Linked DNA regions of Homo sapiens: all the other regions are linked to region 1. The links are contacts of gene promoters, found by promoter capture Hi-C in blood cells and fetal thymus (Javierre and others, 2016). All regions are on one chromosome and are shown on one strand. The core of a region is centred on a gene start or on the middle of the fragment in contact, and the rest is flanking DNA. Distances in the headings are between cores, read along the strand shown.

Region 1 (3,424 bases), core at 300-2,799:
CTATATTAAAACCAGTGCCCAGGTCTGCCCGAGGGCGCTGGTATTTCTGGTTCAAAAACAGCTTCTGGCTACCCTGGAGAAGAAAGAGAAAGCGGGGCCCAGAAAGAGAAAAACAAGCAGGTCAGCGGTTGCTGGGGGACTCGAAGACGCACCCTGGTCTGCTTGAGGACGCCTCTTTTCACACTGACAAGGTCCAGGGAGGACTTCAGGATGCTTCCAGCCTGCAAAATGTGGAAGCGCCCACGTGTGGCCTGGTCCTCCGCCCTCCCGGGTGAAAGTCCTGGAGAGATTTCTCGGGCGCGTCCGTGAAAGCAGGGCACTAATGGGGAGCCTACCTCTTAAAACAGCGCACTTGCCCTACGGACGAGCCTCTAGGCCCTGGTGGTCTGGAATGGGAGTGGGTTGGAGCTGGGACAAGAAAACTCCACTCCAGGATGAAACGCGACATGCAAATCTTCACCGGGTTAAACAAACAGCCGAGCAAGCTGCAGCTTCAGCGGAGGTGGAGGTGGGGGCGGACGCCGCTCGCGCCGGTCTCTGTTTCCAAAGTTGTTACAGTGAGAAAATAAGCGGCTTCGTGCAGCGTGTTGTATGGGCTGATGCCTCCCACCCCCATGCCAGCCCACAGCAAAACCCGGCAGATAATCAGCACATCCCACTGTTTAGTCATATTTGACAACTGGGTTAACCTGGTATCTAAGCGCTGGCGAAACCGTACAAAGGGTGCCCTCAATTACCACCAGAAGCCTCTAGCGTGAGTGGCACTTGTATTACCCCCCGGGTCAGAGGCCAGAGCGACAATTAGGAAGTCACTTACACCGCTGGGGGGAAATGGCGGGATGCAGCAGGCTCCAGGCCCTCCCAACAAATCTGTGGATGTAGATCTGTACAGAGAGGCCTATTTCGCTCCTCTCGGAGGAGCTGTCCCTTCGCGCCCCCTCCCCAGTATAACTGTGAGAGTGAAATTGAATCTAGTGGAATAAGGAATTGGGTAGAAGACACACGAAAATGATAAAAATCACAAGCAAGAATGATAGATACAAGCTGAAGTTGTGTTCTGTAGGCAAAAGCCTGGACACACAAAGTGAGGGCTCACATTTCCGTCTCCACTTGGGCCCTGCTGGTGCGGGCTGTGTCTGGGTGTCTCCTCCCCTCCTGCCTCCTTTCCTACAAGTGGGGAGTCGAGTAGGACTGTCAGCCCTAACTTGCAACATCTCGGGGTGGTTTGTGTGTGGGGGGGTGCTTGTGGCTCGGTTTCATTGGTACTTAAACCTGGCTTGGTGCGTGAGTGTAAATTTTTAATTGCACTGTAATTTCTTCAGTCCCCAGCCCGCCCTCGCCCCCCCCCCGCAAGTATCCCCCACTACTCCCCCCCACCCCCGCGGCCCTAGCTAGCTGACTTGACTGGCACGCGCCGGGAGCCCGGGCTCGGGCCCCTCGGAGCGTCTGATTGGCTGCGGGGCAGCTCCGGTCTGCTCTGCCTGCGCCCTCATTGGGCGAGAGGCGCAGCCAGCGGCACTTCAAAGCGGGTGCTCCTCGCACTTAGGCTGAGTTTAGCCGGCGGGAGCCTGGAGTCCGCTCGGCACGAGCGCGGGGACGCGGGAGCCGCGCGGGACCCAAGCAGTTTTTCCGAGCAGCCGCCAGGCTCAGCCCCGCTCCCAGCCTCGCTGCGCAGCCAGAGACCTGCTATGGCCACGTCTATACTCGGGGTAAGTCGCAAGCGCGGCAACGCATTTGCTTGTTTTAACCGGAGTAATTTTTCGTTATGGCTTCTGGGGTCTGCGGCTCCGGAGAAACTGTTGCTGCTAGACTGCAGCTTCAGCTTCTATTAGCACTTTCCACATTTCTGGGACTGATTTTTCCCCAAGTTTTTGGAACCCAGAAAGATGCCTTTGCAAGAAAAGGCCTTCTTAATCAAGTCCTTTTTCATTTGGTTTCAAAAAAAAGCTAGAGGTTTCTTTTCTTCCCCTCGTGATTTATACCCCATCCCCCGCATTGCTTTGGGGATTTTGTTGCAATTATGCGACAATGGTGTTTCCAGAAAACAGTCTTAATCGTTTTGCAGTCCATCTAGTCACGCTAATAAACATTTACATTTCCGCGGCTCCCCAATTCGCCCATGACTTTGAAATCTGTCTCTGGCCGCTTATCCTCGGATTATTGTTTTCATAATCGCTGTTTTTGTGTGTATGTAAACTTTAAAACCAAACGTTTTCTATTAAAAAAGAAAAGTCAAGTCGTAGCCACCCTGGGAGAGCTGCAAGTTTCGCCCGTCCCTGGCAGCTGTTTCGGCCGCCTCCGCCCTCACCCGGTGTTTGTTGTCTCTGGTCTCTGTGTTTACCTTCGCGCTTCACCCCGAAGGGCGACTTGGGGTCTTCTGGGAGATGAGCCGGTTTACGGCGACAACCCAAGTCCGGTTGTAGGCAGGGTTGCAGCGGGGAACACGGAGGCATCTTTGATTTATAGCCTCAGCGAAGTGCAACTTTCCGGCGCCTGGACCTTCGCCCGGGTGATCGCCCCTGCTCCGCGCCCGGTGCGGCGACTCCTCCGCGGGCGCGTGGGGAGGAGGCGCGAGGCGGGGAGCCAGGACCCCCCGGGAGCAGCCGCAGGGGACGAGGCTGCTCACGGGTGCACTTTGTTTCTTCCCCCACTTCCTCTTGCCCTCCTCCTTCTTGCTCCCTCCCCCATCCCACCCACTCTAGGAAGAGCCGCGCTTCGGAACGACCCCGTTGGCCATGCTGGCGGCGACCTGCAACAAGATCGGCAACACGAGCCCGCTGACGACGCTGCCAGAGTCGAGCGCCTTCGCCAAAGGCGGCTTTCACCCCTGGAAGCGCTCCTCGTCCAGCTGCAACCTCGGCTCCAGCCTCTCGGGCTTCGCGGTGGCCACCGGGGGCCGTGGCTCGGGCGGCCTGGCGGGCGGCTCGGGCGCCGCCAACAGCGCCTTCTGCCTGGCCTCCACGTCGCCCACGTCGTCCGCCTTCAGCAGCGACTACGGCGGCCTCTTCTCCAACTCGGCGGCTGCCGCGGCGGCAGCGGCCGGGGTGTCCCCGCAGGAGGCGGGTGGCCAGTCGGCCTTCATTTCCAAGGTGCACACGACGGCAGCCGACGGGCTGTACCCGCGCGTGGGCATGGCGCACCCGTACGAGTCCTGGTACAAGTCGGGCTTCCATTCGACGCTGGCGGCCGGCGAGGTGACCAACGGCGCGGCGTCGTCGTGGTGGGACGTGCACAGCAGCCCGGGCTCGTGGCTGGAAGTGCAGAACCCCGCTGGGGGGCTCCAGAGCTCGCTGCACTCGGGCGCCCCCCAGGCCTCGCTGCACTCGCAGCTGGGCACCTACAACCCCGACTTCAGCTCGCTCACGCACTCCGCCTTCAGCTCCACGGGCCTCGGCTCCTCCGCCGCCGCCGCCTCCCACCTGCT
Region 2 (3,424 bases), core at 549-3,048, 3.6 Mb before region 1:
AACCGCAAAACTGAGGTACACAGCGGCTGAGTACCTTGCTTGCCAAGGTCACCAACTAGAAAGTGGCAAGGCGGGAAAAATGTCTTCAGAGAGTTCGGACTCCGAGCTTTCAACCACCAAGCCACTAACTTTGACCCTGTTGGCCCACTGATGGTTTAACTGGCTAATGGGGGCATCTTGGAGAAAAAGCTAATTCCCATAACTATGGGGATGTGAAATGGCTTTTCTGGCCTTTTTGGGAAAGTAGCTATCAGATTCAATAAAAAGGGCTGCCTTCCATCCTGCTTAGCCCGGCCCTGCCCGCCTCCCTGGGAAAGGGGACTTCGAAGATCTCAAAGAAGCTGGAAAGGAAACCAGCGCTAAGGAACCAGATCGCTTCGAGGGTGCAAGCATGTGCAGGCGCGAGTGTGTGCCAAGGGGCTCCCTGGCCTCCGACTTGCATCCAGGGAAGAGCTCCCTCGAGTCTCACGCTTCTCCAAGACTCAAATCCTGGACGGGAGCGTGGGAAGGAGCAGGTTGGCCAGGCCTCGGATGAAACCACTAAGCTCTCTCCCCTTCTCCGCTCCCAGAGCAGCCGACCTCATCTTCAGAAGCCAGATCGGGTCGGCCAAGTTGTGTGGTCGCCGCTCGCGTTTTAGAGGGGACAACTCGTTGGGGGAGAAGGGGGCGTGCGAGTGCAGGATGTGCGAGGGACCCATTGTATTTGGGTCGCAAGCAGCCCACCCGTCTTGAGTACGATATTCTCATTCCGCAGGCGCGCCCTGGGCGTGGGAGAAGGTGGGCCCGGAGGCATCGCATCCCCGACCCCTGATGGAAGTGCGGAGGGCATCCTTATACAGTCCAGATTCCGAGTCCGTTGTAGTTAGGCTAACCTCTGACGCTGCATCGGGAGATAGGTCACCCCGTCCGTCCCGGTCGCAGTGCGGTTCCCGTGAGGAAGACGGGCAGAGAGGCCGGGCGCGAACTGATTAGGGGCTCCCCCACGGCCGGCGGCCTGGAGAGTGGAGACTGTGTCCGACGGGAGGTGGGTGGGGGAGAGGAGTAGGCCGAGCTCCGGCGGCCACTCCGCAGTGCGCTCTCGCGAGCCGGGGCCGCGAGGCCTCCAACGCGGTTCCGCACCCCTAATGCCCCAGGGCGGTGAGCACCCCGCGGTTCCCCGCCCGCCTCTTCCTCCTTCCCCGCCCGCGCGCCCGGGAGAGGCGATCCCCGCGTCCGCAGTGCCGGGGCAGGACGCGCCCTGCGCCCTGGGCCAGGAGGAGGCAGGTGGCCCTCCTCGGCAGGAGGTGAGCCGCCAGGGAGGGATGGGGGTCACCCAAGCCCCTGCAAGCGCGACCCTGCCCAGAGCAAAGCACGCCCCGCGCCTGGTGAGGAACTTTTTCTTTCCAAAGGTGGCAGGAACAAGTCTGTACTGACTTTTCTCCCGCCTTCGGGATCCTCTCTCGTATGATTTGTGGTTTGTGGGACCACAACAACCAGGCTTCCTCGACCGCGCCTTTTTTCCAGTAGCTCCTGGTCTGCCAGGCTTGCGAGAGGGCGCGCTGGCTTGGCGGGGCTCCGGGCGAGAAATCACCAGCAGCGCTGGGGCTTTCGGCCCCCCACAGCCCAGCCCGGGCCTCCTGGGTGGCCTGGGGAGAAGGGGGCGGGACAGCACAGCTTCTTCCCCTCGGGTGGGCATGACGGGTCGCCTTGGGTGTCCTGCCGAGCTCAGCTTTGAGGGTATGCGCGGCGCGGGTGTTTTTCCCAGGTCCACTCTGCAAAAGTTGTGGCCTGAGGAAAACTTCCAGGTCGCCAGCAGGAACGTCACAGGAGAGCCCCGGTCGCTCGTCAGGCGGGCGGCCCTGGAGCGTGCGCGCCACCCAACGCCGCGCTGGGCGGCCGCCCGGCCCCGCCCCAGGTCACAGCCCTGCCCTCGGCCCCACCGCGGCGGGCGGGGGACACGCGGCGGGCCGGGCGCTGTCGGTCCCACGCCCCACCGGGGATCTCGCTTGGGTCCGCTGTGTGCGCGGGCGGGTGCGTGTGCGGCGAGGGTGCAGGGTGTGCAAGTAAATACAGGGGAGAGTTACACTCTTTGCCGTCTCAAAGTCCGGCGCCTGGAAGCCGAAGGCAGATTTTTCCAGAGATAACAAAGACACTTTGTCACTTTGGGCGCTGCGTCGGTGCAAATCTTTAATTGCAAGTGTGTGTGTGTGTGTGTGTGTGTATGTTGGGGGGGGCGGGAAGAGTGTCTCGAGCAACCCAAGCGCGGGTCTCCAGGCGGCAAGGCCCCCTTTGATCAGGAAAATCCAATTATTTGTGTATATACATTTCCCACATAGTGATTACTTCATTAATTGTCCCGCCTTTATCTCCTCCCTTCCCATCCCCCCTAATAATCAGTTCTTTTATCCAGACCAACAAACACACCATAGGAGCTTTGTGGATTCAAAGGATTTGCTTTCGCTTCTGAAAGAGCCGCTATTCTTTGATGATTGGGTAGCGGCAAACTTCAAAGCCATAAATCTTCCCTCTGACTGGCTGGCGGCCCAGCAAAGTCCTTATCAAATTCTTGGAGGTGATCCTGAAGCGCTCAGACCGCGCGCGGGGCGAGCGAGCGGGGCGCGGCGAGGGGCAAGGGCGGGGAGGGCCCCGGCGCTCAGAGCAGGCGCCAGGGAGGCAGGCTGGGCGGCCCTTCGTCCTCGCCTTCGGGTGTCCATGCCTCGGCGGCGGCGTCCCGCTCCGCAGCCAGGGGCCTGCAAGCCGTAGCCATGGCCGCGGTGGCCGTCCTCCGGAACGACTCGCTGCAGGCCTTTCTCCAGGTCAGGGCCGAGCCCGGAGGGGGCGGGAGAAAGGTGGAAAGGGCCGTGTCCGGATCTCTCCTGGTACTCCGTGCACCTTGAACCTCAAAGGGAACCCCGCCGATGGGTGCAGCTGGAGCCAGGCCTAGGGGTGCCCACGCCAACTTCACACCTAATCCGGTGTGGCCTTTGCTGGAGGGACGCGTGGATCCGGGATTGTTCGGAGGTGCCCGGCTGGCCGAGAACAGGACCGGAGCTCACCCTGCTGGGCCCTCCTGCTGATTTCAGCCTGGGGCGGGCCAGGGAGGAGCGCGAAGGCAGTGAGGACAAGAGAGCTTAAAAGATGGGAGGGAGAGCGGCCGGCCGGCGGGGTTGTGGGTGTTTCCCGACTCTTACTGACCACGGAGCCGGGAGGGGCCCGTCGGATGCCTCCCCCTCCCACTTCGCGCCTGCTTCCTCTAAGGCTGGATGGCGTCTCAGTGCACCAAGTAGTTTAGCAAGAAGCGCTCGCGGGCCCCACGTTCAGGTAGCGCAGGCACCAAAAGTTTCCCTCGGCCGGTGGGTGCGTGCGTGGGGTGCGGTGGCGGGGGAGGGACGGCCGGGACGGAGGAGGGGCGGCGGTATAATAGCGGGCGTGGGGGCGGCGGGCT
Region 3 (3,424 bases), core at 403-2,902, 3.5 Mb before region 1:
TGTAGACAGTTCAGTTCCAGACCTGTGCCTTCTTCAATAACTTTACAACACATTGTAATGATGTTAATGAACCCAAATATCCAACAATATGAGAATATGTAAGAATGCCTACTCAATAGACTTCAGAGGGGAACCCACTGAAAAAGTTTCATGTATTCAATAAGGTTTGTTTGTTTGTTTTTGTTTGTTTGTTTTGAGACGGAGTTTCACTCTTGTTGCCCAGGCTGGAGTGCAATGGTGCGATCTTGGCTCACTGCAACCTCCACCTCCCGAGTTCAAATGATTCTCCTGTCTCAGCCTCCCGAGTAGCTGGGACTACAGGTGCCCGCCACCACACCCGGCTAATTTTTGTATTTTTAGTAGAGACAGGGGTTTCGCCATGTTGACCAGGCTGGTCTCGAACTCCTGACTTCAGGTGATTTGCTCGTCTTGGCCTCCCAAAGTGCTGGGATTATAGGCATGAGCCACCACACCCGGCCTCAATAAGTATTTACTGAAGGCCTTCTAGGTATTCTGGAGGGAACAAAACCCAGTCTCTGCTCTTCAACAGCATTGTTGTTAAATACAGGGAGATAAACACTGCCATTGTGTGGGTCCTGGGCACTAAGGGAGAATGTGGGAGGGCAGGAGAGACAGTCTAGGCATCCAGGAAAAGCATTTAGAGAGAAGTGAAGTCTAAGCTAAGAAGGTAGAGGAAGTGGGAATTAGCTGTAAGAAAAGGGTGTCTAGAAGACAGTCTGAGCAGAGTAACACAACTTGCAAAGGCGCAGAGACACAATCTGATATCAGAAAGTTAAGCAGGTAAGGTTGGATTATAAAATGAACCATTTAGAGTGGAGAAAGACGAAGCTACAGTGATAAAAGAACTGGGTGATGGGGGGTCTTAGAAGCCATGTTAGAGTTTGAACTTTATCCTTAGAGTAATGGAGGCATTGAATGCTTTTAAGGAAAATAATTGTATTTTAGAAAGAGCATTCTGGTAGGTAAAAAAGATGTCTTCTTAAACTACACATTACGATCCATTGGTCAGTTATGAAATCATTGCAGTAAATCACAAATACCTGGGGGTTTTACAAAGTTAAATACATAGAATAGAAACTATCAGCATATACTGCAAAAGAGTATGGCAAGCATTGTTTTATGAAACTTTTGTTTCAGGAGTGTGTATTCCCTAGACCTTGAAGTGAAATGTATTTCTTCCTGTGGATCTCGATGAAAAATAAAATTTGAAAGCTTAGAGAACAGACTAGAGTTGAATACAGACTCTAGCAGTTCAAAATTGTAACCTGAAAAGAGACAGTAGCAGGGAGATGTAATGGAATGGAGGGGTTACTCTAGAGGTAGAAAGAATTGGCAGGAATTGGGGATAAAGTAAATGTGGTAAAGAGGTAGAGGTCAAGAATGACTCTTAGTGGGAGGACAAGGTATATGGTGATGCCAGCCCCTAAAGACAGGAACACAGGAAAGCAGCTTTGTTGAAGAAGATGGAGGTTCACTTGCACAAGTTGACTATGGGAAATGTATTAGTTTCCTATTGCTGCTATAAAAAGTTACCACAAACTTCGTGGCTTAAAACAACACAACTTTATGATCTTATAGTTCTGGAGGTTCTAAGTCCAAAATGGGTCTCACTGGGCCAAAAGCAAGGTGTCAGCAAGGCTGCATTCCTTCTGGAGGCTCTAGGAGATAATCCATTTCCTTGCCTTTTCCAGCTTCCAGACCCCACGCATATTCCTTGGCCCCATCTTTCCACCTTCAAAGCCAGGAATGTCTGGCCAAGCCCTTGTCATGCTGCCATCTCTCTATTCTCTCTCCTGACTTTTTCTTCTGCTTTTAAAGATGCTTGTGATTACCTTGGGTCCATCTGGATAATCCAAGATAGTCTCCCTATCTTAAAGTCAGCTAATCAGCAAGGTTAACTCCGTCAGCAATCTCAATGCCCCATTGCTATGTAATCTAACATATTTGCAGTTTCTGGGTATTAAGATGTAGACATCTTGGGAGAAGAGGGGTGCATTATTCTGCCTAACTCAGGAAGTATTGGGTAAGTGTTAACTAGTTTTCATGGTATGAAGCTTAAAAAAGACACTTGGGCGGGAAATATACCTTTATTAGTAGTCATCACTTAGAGATAGTAGTCAAATAAACAGAATGAAGGACCCATGGAGAGAGTGTAGTCCAAATAGGAGAGGACCAGGGATAGAATTATAATGATCACCAACATTTAAGTGGTAGTCCATGAAAGAGAAGTGCACATAATAGACTGAGAAGGAACAACCAAGAGGAAAATTGGGAAAGCAAATATAGTGGGCACTGTTGGTTTCCTACTCAGCAACTATCCTTTTCCCTTTCTTTGCAAAGAGCAAAGACAGTCCCGACTCTGTTCAGATATTCGCTCCCCACATCCATAGCCACGAGACTCAGCCAACCAGTCCCTGGCATTTCTCTGGTGACTGTTATTGTTCCAGAGATGGACATGTGACCTACTTCTTCTAAAAAGATCGAGGACTTTATTTCATGATTGGGAGGAGATGTTCCTCCATTCTTCTGGTTAAGAACCAGGAAGCATGCTGCCCTAGTTTCTGCTGGCAGTCATCTCATGATCACGAGAGAAGCTAATCTTAGGAAGAAGCTGATGCTGTGGATGGAAGAACAAAAAGAACCTAGGTCCCTGCTAATGCTCAGCCGCTGAGTCGACGGGCCTGGGAGCCACCACTCTGAGTTTATGTTATGAGATAAACTTTCTTATTGTTCAAGCCAGTTGGATCAAGGTTTCTTTTACCTGCTGCCAAAAGCCTCCTAACTGATATTGAGCAGCACCACAGAAACCCAGAAAAAGAGTTTCAAGGAGCCTGTAAAAACCTGCTTTGCAAAAAGTTGCAGAGAAGACAAGTAAGATAAGAACTAAAAGGGTAATGGGATAGCAACAAAGAGGTGGTTGGTGATATTAGGAAAAGCTGTGTCAGTTGAGTGTGAATTGGGGGTGCCGTATTTCAGTGAATTTGAGTGCATTGGAGGTGAGGAAAAGGAAAACGAGGAAAGAAAACAGATGAAGTATCATTGGAAGACATAAGGTAAGTGCAGTATTATTTGTAAAACATTTAAGATGAGCATGTTTACCGGCCTGGCCAACATGGCAAAAAACATCTCTATAAAACATATAAAAATTAGCTGAGAGTGGTGACACACGCCTGTAGTCTTAGCTACCTGGGAAGCTGAGGCAGGAGGACCGCCTGAGCCTGGGAGTTTGAGGCCGCCAGTGAGCCAGGATCTGATTGCGCCACTGCACTCCAGCCTGGGAGACTGTCACAAAAAAAAAAAAAAAAAATAGATGAGCCTGAGCCTGTTTAATAGGATGGATGATAATAACAGCTACTGATAGCCTGTTATGTGTTAGGCACTATACTAAGCATTCATATGTTAA
Region 4 (3,424 bases), core at 512-3,011, 3.5 Mb before region 1:
GCACTATTGTCTTCCCCACTCCCCGGTCTGACTGAAGAGCAGCCATGCGAGCCCGATCATCTAGTCAAATACTATTTTTCACCCAATTAATTCTTGAACTCTTCCACGACCCCATTTCATGCCAGTTTATTTTAAGCTGCCACTAGGCTGGAGACCCGCCAAGAAATTATGAGACGTTTCGGTCCCAGATGCCTGTGTTCCCTTTCTGGGCTGCTGTGGTCGCCCTTTGAGTCTGCGGGGCCCGGCCAGTGGGTGTTGGGCAGCTCGATCGGAGCCTGGCCCTTTGCGTGTGGGTCAGCCTTCACCCAACTCCGACCCCACCTCCGGAGCTGCCGGGCGGGGGTCGCTTACGGGCCCGGAGGGGCGCCGGGTGCCCCGCCTCTCAGAGACACCGTTCCATATTTGAAGCCAGGAGCAGGAAGGGAGTATGATGGGGGCTTAGAGTATATGCCTGTCGGCTCACAGATTTGGCTCCTAGCTCCTTTCAGGAAGTAGCTTTTAATGAAGAGCTCTGGCAAAGTCCTCATCCTCCCCCAAGAAAACCATTGTCCTCCACCCATTTCCCCGCGGTCGGAACCTCCCTAACCGAACCTCTCTCCCTCTCTCTCGTCCTAGCGTACGATACCTGGTGCGGCGTGGCCCATGGATGCACCAGAAAACTGGGGCTCAAGATCTGCGGTAAGTGACAGGACCCACTGGGGCCCGGCTGGGTGGCGCGGCGGGCGGACCTTTGGGGCTTGGGAGACTGGGACGCAAGCGGAGGGGGATCCGGGCTCATGGGTCTGATTTTCTAATGTAATTACAGCCAGGACAGCCAGCGACCACGCTCCCCTACAGGCCCTGACCCTCCTCTGCCCGCCCCAGACCTGGTCCCCAGGGGTCTTTTCCTCTGGAGTCCCCAATCCCCAACACCCAGTGGAGCGAACGCCGGGTGCCCTGCCTGGGCGCAGAAGCGGGAGGAAAGCGCCCCCGCGCGGCAACCCCGCCTTCCTAGCCCTGCGCGCAAGCAGCTCCCACCCGGTGCCGTGCACTCTGCCTGCGCGTCCCAAAGGTCGCGTAGAAAAGGTGAACTGATCTGGCTTGCTGGAGAGCAGACCAAAGGCGGTGTATCTGCCTAAAGCTGTAGCTGACACGTCTCCCCCATCCCCTACATCATCGCCTACCCCTCACTCGCACCTCCACCCGCGCAGTCGGGTCGCATTGAAAGTGGTCTCTCCACCTTGAGGGGTTTTGCCCTGAGATGTCATAACGGATTCAAGTTTCTTTCTTTGGGGCTTCGGAGGCTAAAGAAAAGGATTGCCTGGAGCCCTCCATGGCCTGCCTGAGGGAGGCACGAGGGTTTGCCTGGCGCATCCTTGAAGGCGAGGAGGGAAGGGAAAGGGGACGAGCAGGGACGAGGAGCCGCAGGCGGCGAAAGAACCGGGAAGGAAGAAAATAGATCAGGGAGCTGGAGAGGAGAAAGAACTGCTCTCTGGAGACAGGAGGGTCTGAAATGAAAACGCCCAAAGGATGTAATTTTTTTAAAGGAAAAAGGGAGATTTGTTCGAAGGGACACAGCTGAGTGATTCTGGCTGAACAATGAGGCCTCACTTTCCTGGCTACATTTCACCGACTAAAATTCTCTAGCCTTATCGGGCCAGAAAATACGGATGTCCCCGGGCAGAGGTTGGAGAGGCGGGGGAAGATTAACGGGCGGCTTATTAAAGAGCCATCCGTCAGCTCCTGCGCGCGGGAGATAGCGGCAGAGCAGGCACGGGACACGCCCGCCCGCCCTAGCCCCGGAGCGCCGAGAGCCGCCCGCCGCCTGGGTGCTCTCTGCACCTGATCTTCCCAGCCTCCCTGGGTCCCGGGGCGAGGGCGGTGGCAGTTTGCAGTCAGAGCAGAGTGGCCGCTTTGGGGAACTACTCCCTTCCCTGCTTGGCCGCGCCGCGCCCTCCCTGCATTTCTGGGGCTCTGTCCTCTAGACCCTGGGACTCGGCGTTTAGGGAGGAACAGGCGCTCCATTCCTAGACCCAGCCATTTTCCACCGAAAGCCCAGCCCTGCCGCCGGGCGGCCTGGGAGTTTGGCCTTCTCCCCAGCGCAGGACGCCCGTGGGGCAAGGCCAGGGCTGCATCCCTGTGCTGGGGCAGCCGGCGGCCGCGGATCTTTGTTCTATAAATAGCCCCGTCCCACTCCCACCCCCACCTCCACCCCCACCCTGCCGCCATTCTGGGCTTAATGGCCCGTTTCGCGCCAGGTCCCTTCGGCGGCCGCAGCGCTCGGCTTCTGCAGCCGTCATTGTCATGCAGCCAGCCGGGCAGGCAGAACTGAGCGAGCCCTGGGCAGCCGAGGACAGGGTAGGGGCAGGCTCTGGGCGACGGCTCCTTACCAGCGGCGCCTGGCCTGCTGAGGGTGGGGGGCAGCCCTCATTCACCCCCATCCTGCCCCCTGCTGTCCCCTGCTCCTCTGGCTGCAGGCGCTCCACTTCCGCGGGAATAAAAGGTCTAAGTGCTTCTTATGGGGACATACCCGACGAGTTCAGAAAGGCTAAAGAGGCGGGAAAGAGTGGGGCTTCGCTGGGTCCGGAAATAGGGAAGCCGGAGTTGGCCTCCACTCCCCCTCCCCCACTGTCAGCCGAAGCTAGGAGGGAGAGCTCCTGGGGGCTACAGTCCTCAGAGAGTTTCCTCCCTGTGTCTGCTCCCCACAACCCATGGTAGTCTGTTGAGGAGAAATTGCCTTGGGCTAAAATGCCCCGCTTTTGGGGCCACAGGTTAGGAGGCTTCCCATTAGGTTTGATTGTGAAAGAAAACAAAACACCAAGATTTATTTTCCACACCTTGAGACAACTTTGGCTTTCCATTTTAATCTAGTGGAGGCAGAGTGCAGTCTTTTGTGTTGGCCCTGGGTCCACAGCTCCCTGCCTGCCTACACACACACACACACACACACACACACACACACACACACACCCCTCCCTTCATCCCTGGAGGGATGGACCTGGAGGGTCCCTTCTTGACTTGACACCATCCAGGTTGGTTTACCCTTTCACATTAAGAGAGCAGAGGAACTCATGGTCCTCTTCCCACTTCCAAACCCACTGCCCTGGATGACTCTCAGAAGCACCCTCAGTGCCTTGCCAAAATTCAACCCCCACCCACTCTCCCCCTGCCCTTCCCCAAAATCCACAGAATGAAGCTGCAAGGAAGGCCCTGGGCCCCACTAGTGGTAGCCCTGAAGGCAGAATTAGCTCTGGAGGCAGAATCCCCCAGGGAGAGTAATCAGCTAGAAGAAACCCATGGTCTTGCCAAGAGCTGGAGAGTGCTGCAGGCATGGTGGCATGACCTAAATACGATGAGTTGCAGGGATCCCTAAGTTCTGGCTCCAGGCTCTGCTAACTTCCCAGGGTGTCCTTGGGCTTCCATCACTTATCTCTTGCTGCCAACT

Evidence for each region. The method cuts DNA at HindIII sites, captures the fragments that hold promoters and counts their contacts. A CHiCAGO score of 5 or more calls a contact.
Region 2: the fragment with the promoter of LINC01124 here is called in contact with the fragment with the promoter of SP9 in region 1 in 1 of 17 cell types (total B cells); the score reaches 6.2 in total B cells.
Region 3: a fragment that was not itself captured here is called in contact with the fragment with the promoter of SP9 in region 1 in 1 of 17 cell types (naive B cells); the score reaches 5.7 in naive B cells.
Region 4: a contact is called between a fragment that was not itself captured here and the fragment with the promoter of SP9 in region 1, in 2 of 17 cell types (total B cells and naive B cells). The highest score is 24.2, in total B cells.

Annotation. Positions count from the first base shown.
Region 1 is chr2:174,333,405-174,336,828 of GRCh38, forward strand. It overlaps SP9 (Sp9 transcription factor), which reads left to right and starts at 1,550. Exons shown (of 2, transcript NM_001145250.2): 1 at 1,550-1,709; 2 at 2,703-3,424. The coding sequence starts at 1,689. LOC102724194 (a long non-coding RNA gene) reads right to left here and starts at 1,572. Exons shown (of 3, transcript XR_427194.5): 1 at 336-1,572; 2 at 153-221. The HindIII fragment of the contact is 13,141 bases long and covers 1-3,424 here.
Region 2 is chr2:170,712,769-170,716,192 of GRCh38, forward strand. LINC01124 (long intergenic non-protein coding RNA 1124) reads right to left here and starts at 1,799. Exons shown (of 1, transcript NR_027433.1): 1 at 1-1,799. SP5 (Sp5 transcription factor) reads left to right here and starts at 2,569. Exons shown (of 2, transcript NM_001003845.3): 1 at 2,569-2,795. The coding sequence starts at 2,745. The region is part of intron 5 of ERICH2-DT (ERICH2 divergent transcript); the gene reads right to left. RefSeq lists a silencer at 1,886-1,935 and enhancers at 2,153-2,942, 2,943-3,424. The HindIII fragment of the contact is 7,273 bases long and covers 1-3,424 here.
Region 3 is chr2:170,801,637-170,805,060 of GRCh38, forward strand. No RefSeq gene overlaps it. Among named protein-coding and RNA genes, the nearest start is that of GAD1, 14 kb to the right of the region's middle. The HindIII fragment of the contact is 842 bases long and covers 1,232-2,073 here.
Region 4 is chr2:170,821,472-170,824,895 of GRCh38, forward strand. It overlaps GAD1 (glutamate decarboxylase 1), which reads left to right. Exons shown (of 17, transcript NM_000817.3): 3 at 616-678. Among named protein-coding and RNA genes, the nearest start is that of GAD1-AS1, 4.5 kb to the left of the region's middle. RefSeq lists an enhancer at 1,370-2,169. The HindIII fragment of the contact is 7,722 bases long and covers 1-3,424 here.